Regions from separate parts of the Homo sapiens genome. Here all the other regions are linked to region 6. The links are contacts of gene promoters, found by promoter capture Hi-C in blood cells and fetal thymus (Javierre and others, 2016). All regions are on one chromosome and are shown on one strand. Each heading gives the region's core, a stretch centred on a gene start or on the middle of the fragment in contact. The rest is flanking DNA. Distances are from core to core; before and after follow the strand shown.

Region 1 (2,500 bases), core at 1-2,500, 230 kb after region 6:
AGCTGCCTCTTCCATCTCCTTTACCTGCTACAACTACAAAGAGCCTTCTCTTTAATGCACGAATAGCAGAAGAGGTGAACTGCCTTTTGGCTTGTAGGGATGACAATTTGGTTTCACAGCTTGTCCATAGCCTCAACCAGGTATCAACAGATCACATGTAAGTATGATCAATTTTATATCTACTATAAGTGAAAAGTTTTGGCCTTACTAAGAGAATCCGTATTCCTGGTTTTATTTCAGAAATTTTTAGATACATAGTTTATTTTTTAAAAATATCCATATCCGAGGGAGAATATAGTCTTATTGCAATAATAGATTAATGAGATTTAAGTAGGCAATATTTATTTTTAGATAATAATTCTGACCCATGTAGCTCTATGGATATTTTTTCAGCTCTTTTGAACTTATCTTGGGGGATCCATCATTTGTGCAGAGATCTGGTCATGAAACTATATCCCTGTCTGGGCGCGGTGGCTTACACCTGTAATCCCAGCACTTTGGGAGGCCGAGGCAGGTGGATCACGAGATCAAGAGATTGAGACCATCCTGGCCAACATGGTGAAACCCCATCTCTACTAAAAATACAAAAAAAAAAAAAAAATTAGCCAGGCGTGGTGGCGGGCGCCTGTAGTCCCAGCTACTCGGGAGGCTGAGGCAGGAGAATCACTTGAACCCGGGAGGCAGAGGTTGCAGTGAGCCGAGATCACGCCACTGCACTCCAGCCTGGCAACAGAGTAAGACTCCGTCTGGGGAAAAAAAAAATTATTTTTCACTGCAAAACCAATACATATTTATACAAACAACACAAAAATGTGTAAAAAGTAAAATCTCTCATTCTTATCCCTTCATATTCCACCACACAATGTTACTCATGTAACCTCGCATTCTTTATTTTTTTAATTTAAAAATTCATCATGTAGGGGAATGAGGATAAACACATTATAATGGAGAGATATCTACATTAGATGCGGTACATATTTTTGGGGCATTTTTAAAGCTGATGACTCTAAGGTGAGATACTTACTAAATGGATTTTCTAATGGAGAAGCTAAGAAATGATTGGTTAAAATCAGAAAGAAGTATAATACTACTAATATTTTGTCACTCCAAAAATTCAGCAATATCTAAATCACTTCTTTTTTTTTTTTTTTTTTTTTTTTTTGAGATGGAGTCTTGCTCTGTTGCCCAGGCTGGAGTGCAGTGGTGCGATCTCGGCTCACTGCAACCTCCACCTCCTGGGTTCAAGTGATTGTTCTGTCTCAACCTCCTGAGTAGCTGGGATTACAGGCCCCCACCACCATGCCTGGCTAATTTTTGTATTTTTAGTAGAGACAGGTTTTCACCATATTGGCCAGGCTGGTCTCAAATTCCCGACTTCAGGTGATCCACCCACCTCGGCCTCCCAAAGTGCTAGGATTATAGGTGTGAGCCACTGTGCCCAGCCTCTAAATCACTTCTTATGCTTGTACATACTTATTCAGTAGTTTTCACCAAATATTTAAAGATGTAAAGGAAATAGCACACGTAAAATAAGGACTTATTTTATGGAGAGCTCCTGTAAGATTGCCCTGGAAATGTAGTGAGTCTTATCATTGGACACCATCTTTATAGGTCTTCATGGTTAGATCCAATGAGTAGAACATTGACATGTATAATATAAAGTTAAAACACTGCCTATACTTAATTTTATCATCATCTCCCATGGTTATGAATTTAATTTGCTACTTATATTGAAGTTTATTGAAAATTGCTGCTGTGAAGTGTATTGAAATTTGCTGTTTGGTTTCCGCTTTTCCCGCACCATGACATTATTTGAGAAAGCAATGTAAGATGGAAAAATTACATAACCTCTGGGTCTTGTCTTAATCAGTGTGGCAACAGTATCTTATTTGTAAGACATTCCCAGAAAGTCAGACTCACTCATATTCAGGTGTAAGAAAATATATTCCAATACCAAATATCAACTTTTTGTGTAACTTTCACTTGTCTACCCTTCCATTATTTTGAATAGTTTAGAATAGAATGTATTTCTTTTCTATTTTAGAACTACTTGGAAATTATTAAACTCATAGTTCAATAAAATAGTGTTTTGGGCTTTTTTTCTCTTGACTGTGTAAAGTAAAATGAAGAAAAAGATTGTCCTTAGAAGAATCCCTCTCTGTTATTTTTGATAATTATATTTCTCCCAGGGATAGCATATTTGAAAATTCATAACTGTTGGGTCAGCCACAGTGGCTCACACCTGTAATCCCAGCACTTTGGGAGGCCGAGGCGGGCAGACCATCTGAGGTCAGGAGTTAGAGACCAGCCTGGCCAACATGGTGAAACCCTGTCTCTACTAAAAATACAAAAATTAGCTGGGCGTGGTGGCAGGCACCTGTAATCCCAGCTACTCGGGAGGCTGAGGCAAGAGAATCACTTGAACCTGGGAGACGGAGGTTGCAGTGAGCTGAGATTGTACCATTGCACTCCAGCCTGGGGGACAAGAGTGAGACTTCGT
Region 2 (3,258 bases), core at 460-2,959, 180 kb after region 6:
ATTTCTGTGTTGGTTCTGACGCAGGAGTTTTTTCCTGTTTGAGTGAGATCCACTAATGGAGGATTGTTATTTGATGCTTAGGACTTGGGATTGAGCAGAAAACACTACTGTTGGCTTGTAAGATCATAATCGGTGTTTTGAATATGGAATATACTACCTTCTTAAATTTAGTTTTACATGTGTGAGTGAGGCGGTTTCCCCTGTGCAGTTTTTCCTTGCACTTCTCCTTCCTGAACCAATCTTAATGAGGAATGTGTGTGACATGTACCAAAAACTTCAAAACTTTAAGATAGAGAAAATATTTTGAAGATGCCTATTCATAAATTATTTATTGGTTTAATTTATTTTCAATAAAAATTTCAGTGAGATGTTAGGTAGGCGCAATATTTCTGAAATTTATCTAAAAAATAAGAAAGTCAAAGAAAATTCTGAAAACTATGTTTTTGTTTTTGTGTTTTTTTTTTGAGATGAAGTCTCACTCTGTCACCCAGGCTGGAGTGCAGTGGTGCGATCTTGGCTCACTGCAAGCTCCGCCTCCCGGGTTCACGCCATTCTCCTGCCTCAGCCTCCCAAGTAGCTGGACTACAGGCACCCGCCACCACACCCAGCTAATTTTTTTTGTATTTTTAGTAGAGATGGGGTTTCACCGTGTTAGCCAGGATGGTCTCGATCTCCTGACCTCGTGATCCGCCCACCTTGGCCTCCCAAAGTGCTGGGATTACAGGCGTGAGCCACTGCACCTGACCCTGAAAAGTATATTAATGGGGAAGGAAAAACAGACATGCCTTACTACATATTAAAATGTCATTTCAAGCAGTAGTAGCTAAAACATCAATACATCATGATAAATCAGTGGATGAGAACAACCCGAAAATAAAACCCTACCATTTCTGCGAATGAAGTATATAATCATTATCTAATATAGCTAATATGTAATATGTAGTATATAACATGTAATGAATATACATAAGATGTGTAAAGGAATTCTGCATTTTTAGACCTCCCACAACAATTTTAAATAGTGACAGTGATACGAATAATATTATGATTATTTTGGGACTCTTTTAACATTAATTTTAACAAGAATGTATTTTGTGTTAAGTATAATCTTGGTTGCTGGGGTTACATAATTTATCATCCTGTTAAAATCATTTTGTTGTCTCTATTAGTCTTTTCATTAAGAGTGATATGTCCTTTTTTCTATCAAACTACTAATGTCTTTTAGAAATTATTTCTGCTACCAGGACAGATTTTGTTTTACTTATTGCTTAAGATTGTTAACTTGCAAAACGAAGTGAAGTGAAAATTTAATCAACTGTGTAGACTGTCCTAACTACCTTAATCAAGTAAAAGAATTTACTTGACTTTGTTGCAATCTGAGCTTTTATTTTGTCAAAGTCTAGTTATCTTATTAAGTCTTCAGTAGAAGATATAATTAATACTTGGTGATTTCTAAATCTGAATATTGGAGAAAAGGGCACCAAATTGAAGAATGCTAGATTTTAAATATTTTCTAGAACTTTAATCTATATGTTCCTCAAGGGGAATTATTGTTAAGCACTGTCTTGATGTGGGAAAATAGATCCACAAGAAACAGGAGTTTCTTCTTCCCAGCCCCTAAAGATACACTACATTGTAACTTTAGACTTGACTGAATTTTTCAATGTAGTGCTGTCTTTGCATAGGTGTATGTCTTTGCACAGATGGTGACTAGTAGAATGTGGATTCCGCTTCTCATCCCATCATACTTGTTTAGTTTTTCCGGGTGAATATATAGCCAAGTTTTAAAAGCAATGCTCTGAGATTCTTACTCCACATCTTGTTAAATGGCGATTGTGAACCAGTAGATCTGGAGTAGGGTTTGAGAGTCTGCATTTCTAACAAACCCAAAGGTGATGTTATGCTCTCAGCAAGGTTCTAGACTGCTAAATTTCCTATATAGACTTAGTTGTTGCGATGTCTTTATTCAAAAAGAACTGCTTTGTTCTTGGTCTTATAATTGTAAGATATTTTGTTAGGTGAGTCCCATATATTTTTTCTCACTTAATCTTCACAACACCCCTGCAAGACTGTAATACATGTTCATTATGGAAAATTCAGATAAGCAAAAAGAAGAAAAATAAAAGTTACGTAGATACCAGAAATTAAAATAATATTTATTTATAAGTTTAAGACTCCAAGTGAAGATTAAAGTTCTAAAAGGAACTAAAGTTATAGCTTCGGGAGTATTATATGCATTTTCCCACCTTAAGTAAAGAAAACAAAACATTGTGGGAGTAATATGACTGAAACTAAAATGTATTTACTTAGAAAAGACCAGAAGAAAATGTCAGAGCATACAGTAGTTGCATTAGGGTGACAGGATTATAACAGGCACTTTTTCCTTTTATCTGCAGTCCACAATATTTATAATGTGCATATGTTACCTTTACAATAAAAATTTAAAAACCTTAGTCTTCTCAGAAATGCCACTGAGGAAAAGGTCTGAAAGTTAATAATAACTAAACTAAATAAATACTTTACAATTTAAATGAAAATCATCAAGATGGACAAAGAATAATTCACACAAGTGAAAAATGGTAAATGAACAACTGAAAAGAATAAATCAAATACAGCTTTGGTAAAATAGTAAACAGCTTTACACAATAGTAAAAAAACATGCAGCTAAGCAGGTATCTATCTTTTCCAAAAGGAAGTATTTTAGAGCTAACAACCAATGCTGACAAGGCACAGCAAAACCAATATATTTGTTCATTTCTGGTAGTAGTATGCATCCTTTTGAAAGGTAATGTGATTAACACAAAGATTCATAAATATTTAATGGCAATAGAATACAAAAATACTATACACACTCCATCTGTCACTATGTAACATGTTTACATGCTGAAAGACAATCTTTTGGGGAAAAAACTCTTTTTTGAGGATAAAGAGATGAGATTACCGAGTGCTTTAGTGTTTGCTTAAACATTCTTTAAGTCTTCTTAACTTAAAAAAAGCAAATAACCAAAGTTAACTTTACATATGATAGCCCTCTATCAAGTAAGTAAACCACATTTTGCATATTATGGATGTTTATGCTTTTTTGTTTGTTTTTAGCCCTCTTTAGACAAATTCCTATAGAATTTTCCTAAATTAGAAACAAGTCTTGAGATTTGTTTTTAACTTTCCTAGTACTAAAGTCAACCACTTATTCCAAATTTATTGAATTCACCTGTATGTGGTACAATTATTATCTAGTTATCATACAGGGAACGTAGA
Region 3 (3,466 bases), core at 26-2,525, 250 kb after region 6:
GCGGTGTTTGGTTTTCTATCAAGGACATTTTTCATAGAGTGAAAGTTGAGCTGTTATGAGCCATTTCAATTCTGTAAATTGTATGAATTTTCAGGGATAAAAACCCGGCTTCTGAAAGAGAGAAAAACTTCCAGAGTAACTATTTGTAGGTTAGATACATATCCCACAAGTGTTGTCAAGGTGAGAAGTTATTTAGATTGCCGGGGAAAGAGAACAGGGAGATAGGTGATTGATCTAGATAACTAGCTTTTTTTCTTCTGACTCTTGAGATTAGATAGATAAATAGTAGATGAACTTTAGATAGAAATGGAAAACTTTAAAACAAATAACCTCACTAATATATTATTCACCAAAAGCTTGAACTTCTGTCATGAAGTTGTTTTCTAACTAGTTTTGAAGGGTAAGTGCATTGTCAGTCTATCTTGATTTTTAGATTAATTATTAGAATTTGAAGTTTGTTCTAAAGTGTATATAATTTGCCACATAGAATTTAAATACAAAGGCATAATGGTATATTACAATTCAGACTTAGACAAATCTTGTTTTAAATCTTCAGGTTTGTTAACTACATAACCTTGGGCAAATTTCTTAACCTCTGTAGGCTTCATGTTCCATTTCTGAAAAATTTTAAAGATAATACTCAAGAATGTTGTAAAAATCAAGTGAATTGATATGTAAAGCACCTTTCACAACTCTGACACAAAATGTTAGACTAACATTTATAGTTAATTGCTCCCATATCATCTTTATCACACTAGAGTCAATAAATAAAGTTGTATGTTTATATATAACATTTAAAATACATTAACCTTGCTAACTGAAAGTCCAGATTTATGTATCATGGAAAAAGACTGAAAGCTTAATTGAAGGCAGTTCTAGGTTTAAGTTCTGTCTGTAAAAAAACTTTTATCTTGACCAATTTTTACAATTTCTTACAAGTTTTTAAATATTTTATAGTTTAGTGATAAGAAATGTATACATTATTCAGATGCAGTTATACTATTATTTCTGAAGCATATCAATGCACTTTTTCCTTCATGTCTGAAGGAGAATTTTTGTCTGAAGGCTTATTAACTAGGATAATTTTTCCATCTGATTATTTTTAACACTTTCCTGTTTCATATAACATTGGTTGATTTAATGGACTCTGGGCTCAATATATTTTATTGGGCCTTGAAATTTACTGAACTTATTTATTTTTCTAATAAAAAGAGGATTAGCAAGCTGAAGAGAGTATGTGAATGATGTTAAGGGAGAAAGAGAAGACCACATAAAAGTATAAATCAATATTTTACCACCAGTTTTTGAAGTAAGTAAAGGCTCTAGTAATTGTAAATTGACCACTTGCTTTTTGTTATCATCCCAGTAGTATTCATGTAAGATAGTCTCTAGGATTAAATTGTTATTTTTGTGTAATTTAACAAAAGCGTACTTATTCTTACTTTAATCAGGATATATCTGTTTTCCCAGATAGTCCATGAAAGAACAGAGATGGTCATACCCAAAATATTTGTGTTGTATCATCTTTAGAAGCAATGAACTTTTTACCCCTATAAAGCTAAATATGTATACTTTATAGGCACAAAAATATAGAAATAATACTGGTCTGAAAAATTGAATACTCATACTTAGATTCAAACCTAGATTTTAGATTAACTACTAGCAAGCTAAACAACTGTGTGGGACAAGTTTTTAAGCTTTCTTTTCATCTTTCGTAAATAAGTAGCTTGGATTATATAATTTCTTATTTTTTTCTAGTATTACTATATTGTCACTTATTAATATTTCTATCACATTGTAAGAAAATGTGAAACCACCACAACTGTTACTTCTATCGAATTATTTTTCTAGGCTCAAGACCACCTTTAATCCTACAATCTCAGTCTCTACCTTGTTCATCACCTCGAGATGTTCCACCAGATATCTTGCTAGATTCTCCAGAAAGAAAACAAAAGAAGCAGAAGAAAATGAAATTAGGCAAGGATGAAAAAGAGCAGAGTGAGAAAGCGGCAATGTATGATATAATTAGTTCTCCATCCAAGGACTCTACTAAACTTACATTAAGACTTTCTCGTGTAAGGTCTTCAGACATGGACCAGCAAGAGGATATGATTTCTGGTGTGGAAAATAGCAATGTTTCAGAAAATGATATTCCTTTTAATGTGCAGTACCCAGGACAGACTTCAAAAACACCCATTACTCCACAAGATATAAACCGCCCACTAAATGCTGCTCAATGTTTGTCGCAGCAAGAACAAACAGCATTCCTTCCAGCAAATCAAGTGCCTGTTTTACAACAGAACACTTCAGTTGCTGCAAAACAACCCCAGACTTCTGTGGTACAGAATCAACAACAGATATCACAACAGGGACCTATATATGATGAAGTGGAATTGGATGCATTGGCTGAAATTGAGCGAATAGAGAGAGAATCAGCTATTGAAAGGGAGCGCTTCTCAAAAGAAGTTCAAGATAAAGGTAAAATAATCTCATTATTACCACTTCATCATCTGGGCAAATATGTAATTATAGTGTCAAAAATTTTTTTCACATTACTTTTTTCCCGAATATTTTGTATAATTTATGTCTACTCAAGTACATATTTTTATTACTAATACTCATAATGCAGAAGTTAAATTCGTAACAATTTCATTTATTGTCTGAAACAACTATATGAGATTTGGTAATTCTCTACTACAGGTCTGTTACTCATTATGTACTATATGATTTTACTTATTTGTGCTTTTCTGCTAAAATGAACATTAGCATTTCTATATAACATGTATATTTCACAAGTTACATTAATATTGTTGTGCACCTTCAAATTTTTTTCTGCTAAAACAAGGTTAACCACTGTAGAATTATTTTGAACAGGTACACTTAAGAAAAGCTCATGTGTATGCTTATTAGGCAGTTAGATATTTCACTTGGTTTATGATCCTACTGGCTTAATAATGTCAAATTTTTTTAGTAAACAAATCATGGAAAGAGTTAATATTAAATAGCAAACCTTAGAAATTAAGAGTCTTTTGGTGGTAATTACAGTGAAGTGTTCCCTTTTGTCTGACTAGTATGTTAGGATGGAGTTTCAAGACATACCTGGTCTATGAGTTTATGAGCTTTCCTTGCGCTTCATAATCAAACAAAAATAAATTCATAGTAAGTTCTTAGTAATTTGGTATACACTGTATACAAAATTTCTTTCATGTTTTAAGAGACTGATGAATCAGTGATTCAAATTAGCAATATAATTGATGAATTTGATTGCTATATAAATGCATATACACATTTGATCAGACCAAAAGCATGCTTTATGATTTAATTTTATGATTAAAATATTTTAGGTTGATTTTCAGTTCTTATATTTTATTTCTTGGTAATGATAAAACTTCTTGATATTGGGTAGAGCTGATTTTTATATATGATGTGTTCAGTGTTTGACAGGATCATGACAAGATAATTGTGT
Region 4 (3,778 bases), core at 660-3,159, 140 kb after region 6:
ACTTCATTCTTTTATATACCATAATATACCATTATATGGATACCATATTTTACTTTTGCATGTGTCAGTTGATGGACATTTGGGTTGTTTCCACCTTTTGGTGATTCTGAATAATGCTTCTGTAAACAAATGTGTACAAGTTTCTGTGTGGACATATGGTTTCATTTCTCTTGGGTATATACCTAGTAGTAGAATTGCTGGGTCATATAGTAACTAGATGTTTAATCACTTGAGGAACTGCCAGACTGTTTTCCAAAGTGGCTGCACCATTTTACACTCCTATCAGAATGTATAAGGTTTGCAGTTTTCCTCTATATCTTTGCCAATAATTGTTGTTATCTGACTTTTTTATTCTGGCTATCATAGTGAGAATGAAGCCTTGTAAGTGAAGAAGAATGAAAACCTTGCAGTTTCTTTATTTGCTTTTCTCTGGTGATGTCAAGCATCTTTTCATGTACTTATTGGCCATTTGCATTTCTTCTTTGGAGAAATGTCTATTTAGATTCATTGCCCATTTTAAGTGGGGTTATTTTTTATTAAGAGTTCGTTACATATTATAGACATAGATCCCTTATCAGATACATGATTTGCAAATATCTTTCCTATTCTGTGGATTTTTTCACTTTCTTGATGGTGTCTTTTGAACCACTAAAGTTTTCAATTTTGATGAAGTCCAGTTTATGGTGTTTTTGTTTGCTTGCTTCTGGAGGCTTGTGTTTTTGTTGTCATAGCTAAGAATCCTGTCAAATCCAAGGTTATACAAATTTATCCTTCTGTTTTTTTCTGAGAATTTTATAGGTTTTCTCTTACATTTAGGTCATTGATCCATTTTGAGCTAATTTTTGCAAAATGGTGTGAGGTAAGGGTCCCAGTCTTTTGCATGTGAGGTAAGGGTCCTAGTCTTTTGCAGTTGTCTCAGCACCATTCGTTGAACAATAGCCTTTGGTTCTTGAACAAAGTTTGATCCGTTATATACCAGTATTCTCGCTGACTTCGAAATTACTTGAAGGCTAGTACTTGGCCCATAATTTTACACCTTTGTATAAATAAACCTCATTAAACTAATGTGACACTACTTTGTAATACTGTAAAACTAAATACTTTTTTTCTGGTTGTTGAGACAGGCTCTCACTCTGTCACCCAGGCTGGAGTGCAGTGGTGCCATCATGACTCACTGCAGCCTCTACCTCCTGGGCTCAAGCGATCCTCCCCCTTCAGCCTCTCAAGTAGCTGGGATGACAGGTCGACACCACCACACCTGGCCAATAAAAAAAAAATTGTTTTTAGAGATGGGGGTCTCACTATGTTGCCCAGTCTGGTCTTGAACTGCCAGACTCAAGCAATCCTCCCACCTCAGCCTCCCAAACTGCTGGGATTACAGGCATGAGCCACTGTCCTCAGCCAAAAACTAAATACTTTTGAATAGCTAATAGGTTATAATTCTACTATTGTTATAATTTAAAATGTATGTGGCCCACATACATATGGATTTCTGATAGTTGTGATTCACTACTGGAAAACATGTAAACCTCTGAAATATGGCATAATCTTCACTTCCACCCTGTCATGCTAGTTTTTGTCTTACCACTAGGTGACATGAACAATCAAGACTATATTTACCCTTGATTTAAAGGAACCAAAATGTGTGGGGATGGTGGGAACCAATGGTGAGTGGATAGATATTATGAGAAGGTTGGTAGTCAGATAAACGTGTTATGGAGGAGTGATGAAAGTGAAGCAGCAAGAATGGTCAGCAAGCGTGGGTTGCATTGGAGTTGCACCTTGGGGTGAGAACAGACAAACTACTTGGAAAGTTTGCTGTAAGCTTTCTAGATGTGGGATGAAAGTATTATTAAGTTGAAAGTATTATTGTTAAGGAGATTTGCTGCTAAAAAATAAATTATTAAATCATTTGACTGGTTACATTAACTTTCTCATTGATTCACCTTTCTCCACCCTCTCTTACATTCCATCCTTCCTTCATTCAGTTGCCCAAGCTTCTGTTTTCATTGAAATTACAAAAGCAATATATAGCCACCTCAAGAGTTCAGATGTGAAAGTTTTATGTCAATGAATATGAACATTTTTACAGCTCAATACATATTTCTAAATTGTATGAAATTTCCAAGTTCACCACACCTTATCCCTTTTGTGGGGTAATGTTATAGGTACTTCTTTTTATTGTTAATTGTAGAGTTATTCTAAAATGCAAATTTTATCATGATGTTATCCTGTAAGTAAAGTTCTTTCATATTTATTTGTTGAGTGTGGGGTAATATCTGCCTCCCAGGTTCAAGCAATTCTTGTTCCTCAGCCTCCCAAGTAGCTGGGATTACAGGCATGCACCACCACACCTGGCTAATTATTGTATTGTTAGTAGAGATGGGGTTTCACCTTGTAGCCCGGTCTCAAACTCGTGACCTCAAGTGATCCGCCCACCTCAGCCTCCCAACGTGCTGAAATTATAGGCATGAGCCACCACGCCCCACCTAAGAATGTTATCTGTCAATTTGGATATGCTAATTCAAAATCTTTAAGAAGCTCATATTCTGATATTCTTAGAATACAGTAATATTCCAAAAAAATAGGGAATTAGAGACTTACTTATATTCAGAGGCATACTAAATTCTTATTAGTGAATGTAATAGCTACACTGTAGTCAGAATAGTTTTCAAACCAGTTTTATGGTAAGCATCTCCTAAAGAGCCAGATTTCACAACTATGATGTTTTACAGCAATATTGTATACAGAATGAAAATCCAAAAGATTTAATGTAAACACAAAATTAAACTTAAGCATGATCATTTCTAAGCTCCTAGCCAAAATGGACATTCAAAAGTTTTTACAGAAATTCTGAAAGATGTGCAATATGTTCTTTAAATTAAAAATACTTTTCCATCTATATTGTCAAATACTACTATAGCTCTTCTAAATTCATAATGTAAGCTATTTTCCCATACATCAAGCAAAAGTTACATCATTTGGCTAGATATGATTATAAGGAATCATCTGACTGTATTGGAGAAAGCTGATGAATGTCGATGTTAGAATTAGGAAGAAGGCAATGCCGAGTGTTAATTGTGCAGTTCTTGTAGAGTTAATTGTAGGTGCTTTAGAAGCAGTACAGAATTCAACAGTGTAAGATGGAAAGAAGCTGATAAATCAGAAACATTACTATTAAATTTAGGTTTTGGTGCTGCTTTTTTAAAGAGAAAATAAAATATTTCAAATGTCTAGAGAAAAATGTTAAAAGCAGTATACATGTGTGGGTACAAATTCCTGACTAAACTTTTATATTTAAGTTTTTAGCAAAAGAGAAATTCTTTACTCAAACTTCCTGATTTTGTTCACTGGAAGCCACTTTTTTGATGCTTTTCCTAATCTGTCACCACTCCTTACTCTGGAATAAGACAAGAAATGAGCTATTTTCTCACCAGCCTTTGTTTGGTTTTTGAGTTTATTTATTTATTATTTATTTATTTTTTTGAGACGGAGTTTCACTCTGTCGCCCAGGCTGGAGTGCAGTGGTGCAATCTCGGCTCACTGCAAGCTCCACCTTTCGGGTTCACGCCATTCTCCTGCCTCAGCCTCCCTAGTAGCTGGGACTACAGGCGCCCACCACCACGCCCGGCTAATTTTTTGTATTTTTAGTAGAGACGGGGTTTCACCATGTTAGCCAGGATGGTCTCTATCTCCTGACTTCGTGATCTGCCTCCCTCGGCCTCTCAAAGTGCTGGGATTACAGGCGTGAGCTACCGTGCCCGGCCAGAATCTTTTA
Region 5 (3,789 bases), core at 222-2,721, 160 kb after region 6:
CAGTTTCCTGCTCCTACTGCAGCCCGAGGCAACTAGATCTGGTTTCTGTCTCTATAGTTTTTCCTTTTCTAGAACATAAAAATGGAATCATATATAGCCTTTTATGTCTTTTTTTTAAATTTAGCAGAAAGCTTCTGAGATTCATTCATGTTCTATGTATCAGTAGTTTGTCAATGACTGAAGTTTAAAATTGTTAACTTTGGTGAAGCTCTTACGAAAGAGTATTATCAAAAAATAGTACTTTGAACAGTGGTAGATATTTCTCTCAGATTTTGGCAGCTGCCTTATTATTGAACATTTTACTTGCTCATTTTTACCCCTCGACCCCCAAATTTTACTTACCTGTTTAACCCTCAACCCCCAAATCTAGTCTAATAGACATTATTATATGGCATTTATTTATATTAGTAAATGCTGTTTAATTCTCTACCAAGCATGTGAAATAGACCTACTCTCTTTTTCATAATTAAAATAGGTAGCATCTTGCATTTTGAACATACAGCACATAGAAACTAGAATAAAAAATGAAGGATGGTGCAGTAACACCAAAAACTTGAGTTTACATTTGCTTTAGGTTTAGTGTTTGTAAGTTGGTGCTAAAAAAAGAGCATAGATTATAGTGAATAACAGTCACAGCCTCTCTTCCAATGATTAAAGTTAGAAAAGCAGTGCCCTTTACTGAAAATTGGGGGCAGATAATGAGAAAAGAGTAATTTTCTGGACATTTTATTCGACCACCTCTCCCCCGACCCTTTCCTTTTTGAAACAGCTTCATCTCTGGGATATTCTCTTGTTGTTTGCTTATGTCTTTGACCTCCCATTTTTTAAGTCTTTTGCTAGGTCTTGCTCCTCTACCTACCCCTTTAAATATTTGTATTCTCCAGGAGGTGCTTCAAACTTATTTCTGTTCTTCCTGTTGATCTCATTTATTCACATGACTTGTTACATGCTACCTGTGTGCTGATGACTCACAAATCTATCTCCAGAATATATTTCTCTTCTGAGCCAGATCCAGCTGTCTATCAGGTACCTCCTGATGTCCCATGAATAACAGAAATTCCATAGTATGTAAGTCTGAACTCATCCCTTAATTCTTCCTTACTCTGACCTGTCACCCAAAGAAAGAAAACTATTAAAAAATACATGAAGTAGGTTAATGTTTTCACTATCAACTCATTTACCTAAACTAGAAATTTGGGATAATCCTTGACACTTCTTTACCATACTTCCAGTTCAGTTATTCACCCAGTTCTGACATTTGTAACACTTCCCTGAATTATCACTTGAATCTACCCCTTCCCCAATGTTTTGATTCTGTGAGAGGTCCTGAACATACAGTTTTCTCAGATTTAATAACTTCTAGTATTTTAAGAAAGATTTAGCAGTAATTGTGAAAGTAATATGTATTTAGTATTGGATACTTTTTGCTTCTATGCTTGGGCTCTGGTATTTAAAATTAAGGTGTAATCTTTAGTAACAGTGATACTATATAGCCTAAATGTGACTGTGTTCTGTTATATCTAAAATTTAGGACTTTTGACTTACAGCCCAGTTTATCAGCTGGAAGACTTGAACTCATTTTTTAACTCATTTTTTATCTTTTCATTCTTGCTTTTAGAATACTGCATTTCATGGAGTTGTATATTCATTTCAATACTTTGTGTTTATGTGTTTTGGAGCAGGGTAGAGGAGAAAATGGGAATGTATAAGGAAAGTTAAAGGAAGGACTTTTGAATTGACTTTCCTATACTGTGGAAACAAGTTTACTTAAATAACATTTTCACTTTTATTGCAAACAACAGAAAACTAAAGAAATGCTGTGGGATATGATACCATTCAGGTGCTAAGCATGCACATATTTTTAATGACAGGAGTTAGATGTGTTGTAACAGTATTGCTTGTTTGTGAGTTTGGAAATTAATGTTCATGGTTTTGTATAACTTTATGATATTTCTTCCTTAAAATAAGAAATTACCCCTCCAGCCCACAGTTTGAGCCAAAGGGTCTGCTTGAAATTATTAGTTTAAATAATCCTGAGCGCATCTTTTGTAAAGGGCATTTTAAAATGTAATGCTGCCTTGAAAAACAAAGCAAGCATTTTCTTCGTTATATCTAGAGTTTATAACTAAAGAAGTAATATGTGCTATATTTTGCTCTAGTGCCAAGTACCATATTTTGGAATGAATAGAATCAATCTAAAGGCAGTTTACAAAGGCTGAAGGGAGACCCAGTTTGGTAGTCATTGGATCCCTTTGGTGGCTTGCACATAGTAAGCACTCAACAAACAATTGTTGAATAAATGAATTTGAATATATTTTCAGTTTGGGGACATAGGACTAATTAGAGTGACAGAAGATGGGTGGGGCTTGCTAAATACTGAGCAAGTTTTATAGAGGAAAGAAAACATGAAACCCAGAAATGGTGGACAACATTGACAGCAAAGAATTGGTGTAATTTAGTTAACTATTTTTATCTGGACAATAAGGTTTGTTTAGTTGGATAAGAGAAAGATCTATATACAGAAGTGTTTTGAGTTCTTTCTACTCTTATTTCCACTCTGGCTCTACTTCTGAACCCCCATGTTCACTGCTAAAGAACTAATTGTAGGCTTGGGGCTAAAATGATCTGCATAATCCAGATACTCATATTAAGAACTGGGAGGAGGTGTTGGGAAAGAGGTATTTCTTACAGTTCTTCAATCTTTCCAATTACTCATGTTTCTTAGTATATGTCAGGGTGCCACTGCACTGTCCTCCGTATTCATATGAGGATGTCTAAAAACTAGAATTTAAAATCACATATAATTTACAATAAGCTTGTAACTGTCCTAGTATGAAGTTCAGTATCTGAATCTCTAATAATTAGTTACCTAGCTGTTGAGCCACATTGCCATCTACTCTGATTATCATATGTTTCTTATGATTCTGATATTTTAAACTGGAAGATAAACACCACAGTTTTAGTGTGTTTTATAAAAATTTTATAATTCAGTAACAATCCATTCCTTTATTTTCTTGGAAGCCAAAACTACATATAGTTTCCTGATATGTTAAGCTTAAACTGTGGAATTTAGAACTTAAAAATTTTCAAGAGCTTCAAAGTTGAAGACTTTTCTTAATTTTTTTTCAATTGTAGAACCAATGTGAAAAAAAAAACTACATGCTGTTTGGGAAATGGGAAAAATATCAAATTTTATGTTTTTCCTACTAAGTTTCCTATTAAATTTTTACATAAAAATATTTATGATGAATGTAATTATGGTTAAATACATATATTAATGCTATAAATTTATTCCTCTTTTAACGTTGGATCATAAAGATTTTCCTAGTTTTCTATATAATGTTCATAATTCTTTAAAATGTTGCCCAGTATTTTGTCAGTGGATGAACCATAATTTATTCATTCTATTCTTGCATACTTTTTGCTTTTACTTTTTTTCTATATAAATAATGAGGCAGTGAACATCTTTATATGTAGTTTTTTCCCCCTTTAGGGGCTTTATTCGCTTAGAGTAGAATCTCTTAAGTGGAAGTAATCCTGTAAGTGGAAGTTGGGTCAAAAGGTTTGAACATTTTTATGGCCTTTAATATATATTTCCAAAACTAATTTTATTCTGCTATAATCTTTATTTTCATTCACATCTTAATTCATTCAGTAGATTCATTGTGTTTTTCATATAGAATACACACTTCCTATGAATATTATTAGGTCATTTAAATGCTCCCGTTTCCCACTATTGTGCCTGTGGTCTCTTTTTACTATATATTTTTAACCTCTTGATGATAAACA
Region 6 (3,391 bases), core at 878-3,377:
GGCAGAAGGGAAGATTCGAGCTGATTATAATCTAATGAGGCTGCCAAATCAGTTTCACTTTCCAATACCACATAAGGACTGGTGAGTCTCATGGGCCCTGAGCCAGGATTATTTTAACTGGTAGCATTAGCTGGGTCAGACCGATCAGCCTCTATGGGGAATACTTTGGGAACTGTCATCTTCCAAGCCAGCGCAAGAACAGCCTCTGCCACTGAACTGATGGTGATACACACGGTATTTGGAGGGCAAATCTGATTCACATGCAGTAGCAGGAGATGGAAGAGTGGTTAAAATGAAAGGGAGAGGAGAAGAAGAGCAAGGGACGAGCATAATACAGGGAAAGAAGAATAATACAGGTAGAATAGGAATTACATAGAAGGGAGAAGATCATTTTTTAAAAAAAATAAGGGCCAGGCATGGCAGCCTATAATGGTAGGCAGCACTTTGGGAGGCCATGGCTGGAGGACAGCTTGAGGTCAGGAGTTTGAAATCAGCCTGGGCAACATAGCAAGACCCCCATCTTGACAAAAAATACAAAAGTTAGCCAGATGTGGTGGAACACACCTGTAGTCTCAGCTACTCAGGAGGCCGAGGCAGGAGGATCACTTGAGTCCAAGGGTTTGAGGCTGCAGTGAGCTATGATCATGCCACTGCACTCCAACCTGGGTGACAGAGACCTTGTCTCTAAAAAGTAAAGAAATGAAATAGAAAATAAAAACGAATGGTAGAAATAAAAGGAACTGAGTAGTAGGGGGCAGAGGCATGTCTAGGGGAGAGAACTAGAACTGCCAAGGGATTTGAGTGCCTGATGGATTCTGAAGACTGAAATATACATGACCCCAAAAAGCAATGTCATTTGTAAATATTTGTTAATGAGTTTAGTGAAGTGCTACATGGAGGAATGATCTAGCCAATGAGAACAATGTGCACCAGCCAGTTGGATTCTTGAAGCTGCAGAGACTTCATCTTCAGCCACAGCAGGTGGCTGAGGGCTAGAGTTACTTGGGACTTTCCCCAATGCTCTAGTTCCTTCTATCTCTTGGAAACAAGTCTGGCTCAATATGTTCAGCAGCCCCATTGATGTTGCCCAGAGGAAGTGTGGATCAGGGCTCGCTGACCCCAAGGTTAGCAGCAGAAGAGCAGGGCCTCTGCCTCCCCAGCCAGGAAGCCCACAGTCTTGGCCACATGAATGAAGGAGGTCTTGGCAGCATCTGACACACCTCGGGGTAATGATTTAGCCACCCCAAATTACCGTGTCTCCACAAAATAGTCACTTGGGGCCACACTACATTGTGGAGAGATAATGAAAGAGCTTCTATTTTTGAGCTATCTTTTCCTCATATGCGAATAATTTCACACACAAAAAAATGAGAAAACCACTTCTCTCTGTCACCTACAGAATCAGGAACAGGGATCAGATTATCTTTTAGATACCCGCCCCAAAAAGAAATAAAAATCAAGAAAACATGGGTAAATACCATGGTGGACATTTAAATGAAGCTGAGAAAGAAAGCTTTCTCTATTTAGAGAAGAATTCAAAATGGATGGCAGGAGATTTGTTGAAAATAAGGAAGAGGGAGGGAAAGGTTAGTAAATAATAGGTCAAATCTTCAGCCTAGAGGGCACTACTAAGTTTTCTTTTGTTCCCCCTTAGGTTTCCTGGTGTAGCAGTGCAGTTGCAACGTAGTTTTGTTTTTTGGGTTTCTTTAAACCTAGAGTGGTAAGAGGGACTTGGTGGCGATGGACTGCCATGGGTCGGTTCCTTAGAGGGCTCTTGAGTTTTTCCCACCTGTCTCCAACTCCAGGGCCACCACTCTAATAAAGCCACTGCCATCTCTGACCAGCTCCCCTGCTGTGGCTTTCACTCTTGCTCTCTTTACAGCCCATTCCACACAGCAGCAGCCAGCATGGCACTTCCCGTTCTGGGCCCCTCCCACTGACTGCACCCTGTGCTTGTCCTTCATAGTGTGTAAAGATCTGTATGTGGGGTGATTTGACTAACGGTTCTCTCCCCTTAAGTATAAGTAAACCTATGAGGGCAAGGACTGCTTACCTTAGCATCCTTGGTTCCTGGTAGGATGCCCATCCCATAACAGGCTGGAGCTCCTGGGTGTGTGGGAGGGAGTAGGAAGGAAGCAACAGCTGCCAATCAAAGGCCCATTTGGGCATGTGACCCTTAGCTAGCCAATCAGAATCCTTTCCAGGGTTGTAGCAGTTGAAGCTGTGAGCAGCTCAGTTGGTTGGGTTGTCTGTCTTGTCTTGGCTTGGATTCTCCCAGAAGGAGATCCTGAGTCAATGATTCGGGTGCAAGTAGATTTCTTCTGGGAGCCTTTCTTTAATAAAGCACTTGCACCTGAGTCATTGACTCAGGATCTATTTCAGGATCTCCTTCTTGAGGGAGAGGGCGAAACAGGATCCAGAAGAAGCAAAGCAATGGAGCAGGCATGGCATCAGGAAGAGGACAGGGAGGCTGCCGTAAGCCCAGCAGGCTCCCTTTCAGGCTGTTAAGGAGGGGGATGAGTACGAACATGAAGGTGGCCCAAGTAGCTCTAAGGTCCCTTCTCTCATCTCCTGTCCTTACCGGGGGCCGTAGGCTCTAGATAAAACGCTGCCCCACCACCCGCCAGGGCTTTTGTTTTGGCTCACCTTTCATCCGCCTTCTCAGACTCTGTCTGCCTTGGCTTCCCTCAGCTGAACCCAGGGAATTTGCATTTTGCTATTTTCCATCTGCACTGGGTAGCCTGGCTCCAGATGTTTGGGGCAGCAAATGCAGAAATTCCAGGCAAACGGATCTGATCATTCTCTGCTTGGCTCCACTCGCTGCATCCCAAGCACCAGATGCCTCACTGGTGTCTGCCTACCTTCCTGGGAGGCAGATCCACCGCTCATAAGATAGAGCCCAACGACAAGACCCTGTACTTATGGAGGCCTTTTATTTAACAACTCATTTCATTGAAGGAAAAATCTAGAATCTACTAAGACCTCCTGATATTTTTTAATTAACTAGAAATTGTGGATGTATCCCTCAATATTTTCATCTAAAGTGGTTGAAATGATAATGGAGGGGAAACTGTGTTTTAAAAGCGTGTTACTCCATTTCTTTCATTCACCTCCATCAATGATAATATGAGTTATCACTCTTAATATTAACCACGTGGCAGGCTTCATGCATTCTCACATACATTTCACCCTAAGGCCTGGAGAAGATAATTTCACCAAAGTCACACAGGTAGTACATGGAAAGGTGTAAATTTGAACCTGGATCTTACTGCAAACCCATACTCTTAACTGCTTCATTCAACTTTTGCCAGCAATCATTTGTCATAGACTAAATGCCAGAACCTAAGCCCAAGATTTTGCAGTATACAGAGGAGAAACTGGATGTCTTTTG

Evidence for each region. The method cuts DNA at HindIII sites, captures the fragments that hold promoters and counts their contacts. A CHiCAGO score of 5 or more calls a contact.
Region 1: a contact is called between a fragment that was not itself captured here and the fragment with the promoter of SLC1A3-AS1 in region 6, in 12 of 17 cell types (naive B cells, total B cells, naive CD4 T cells and 9 more). The highest score is 13.8, in naive B cells.
Region 2: a contact is called between a fragment that was not itself captured here and the fragment with the promoter of SLC1A3-AS1 in region 6, in 4 of 17 cell types (naive B cells, total B cells, neutrophils and 1 more). The highest score is 8.0, in naive B cells.
Region 3: a contact is called between a fragment that was not itself captured here and the fragment with the promoter of SLC1A3-AS1 in region 6, in 9 of 17 cell types (naive B cells, total B cells, megakaryocytes and 6 more). The highest score is 9.2, in naive B cells.
Region 4: a contact is called between a fragment that was not itself captured here and the fragment with the promoter of SLC1A3-AS1 in region 6, in 16 of 17 cell types (naive B cells, total B cells, megakaryocytes and 13 more). The highest score is 23.1, in naive B cells.
Region 5: a fragment that was not itself captured here is called in contact with the fragment with the promoter of SLC1A3-AS1 in region 6 in 5 of 17 cell types (total B cells, naive B cells, monocytes and 2 more); the score reaches 10.7 in total B cells.

Annotation. Positions count from the first base shown.
Region 1 is chr5:36,955,481-36,957,980 of GRCh38, forward strand. NIPBL (NIPBL cohesin loading factor) reads left to right here. Exons shown (of 47, transcript NM_133433.4): 3 at 1-157. Among named protein-coding and RNA genes, the nearest start is that of NIPBL, 80 kb to the left of the region's middle. The HindIII fragment of the contact is 3,389 bases long and covers 1-2,500 here.
Region 2 is chr5:36,905,298-36,908,555 of GRCh38, forward strand. The region is part of intron 1 of NIPBL (NIPBL cohesin loading factor); the gene reads left to right. Among named protein-coding and RNA genes, the nearest start is that of NIPBL, 30 kb to the left of the region's middle. The HindIII fragment of the contact is 4,614 bases long and covers 1-3,258 here.
Region 3 is chr5:36,973,925-36,977,390 of GRCh38, forward strand. It overlaps NIPBL (NIPBL cohesin loading factor), which reads left to right. Exons shown (of 47, transcript NM_133433.4): 9 at 1,852-2,478. Among named protein-coding and RNA genes, the nearest start is that of NIPBL, 99 kb to the left of the region's middle. The HindIII fragment of the contact is 839 bases long and covers 857-1,695 here.
Region 4 is chr5:36,864,769-36,868,546 of GRCh38, forward strand. No RefSeq gene overlaps it. Among named protein-coding and RNA genes, the nearest start is that of NIPBL-DT, 10 kb to the right of the region's middle. The HindIII fragment of the contact is 172 bases long and covers 1,824-1,995 here.
Region 5 is chr5:36,886,771-36,890,559 of GRCh38, forward strand. The region is part of intron 1 of NIPBL (NIPBL cohesin loading factor); the gene reads left to right. Among named protein-coding and RNA genes, the nearest start is that of NIPBL, 12 kb to the left of the region's middle. The HindIII fragment of the contact is 2,684 bases long and covers 130-2,813 here.
Region 6 is chr5:36,723,061-36,726,451 of GRCh38, forward strand. SLC1A3-AS1 (SLC1A3 antisense RNA 1) reads right to left here and starts at 2,128. Exons shown (of 2, transcript XR_007058736.1): 1 at 2,054-2,128. RefSeq lists enhancers at 706-755, 766-815, 856-1,125. The HindIII fragment of the contact is 5,384 bases long and covers 1,512-3,391 here.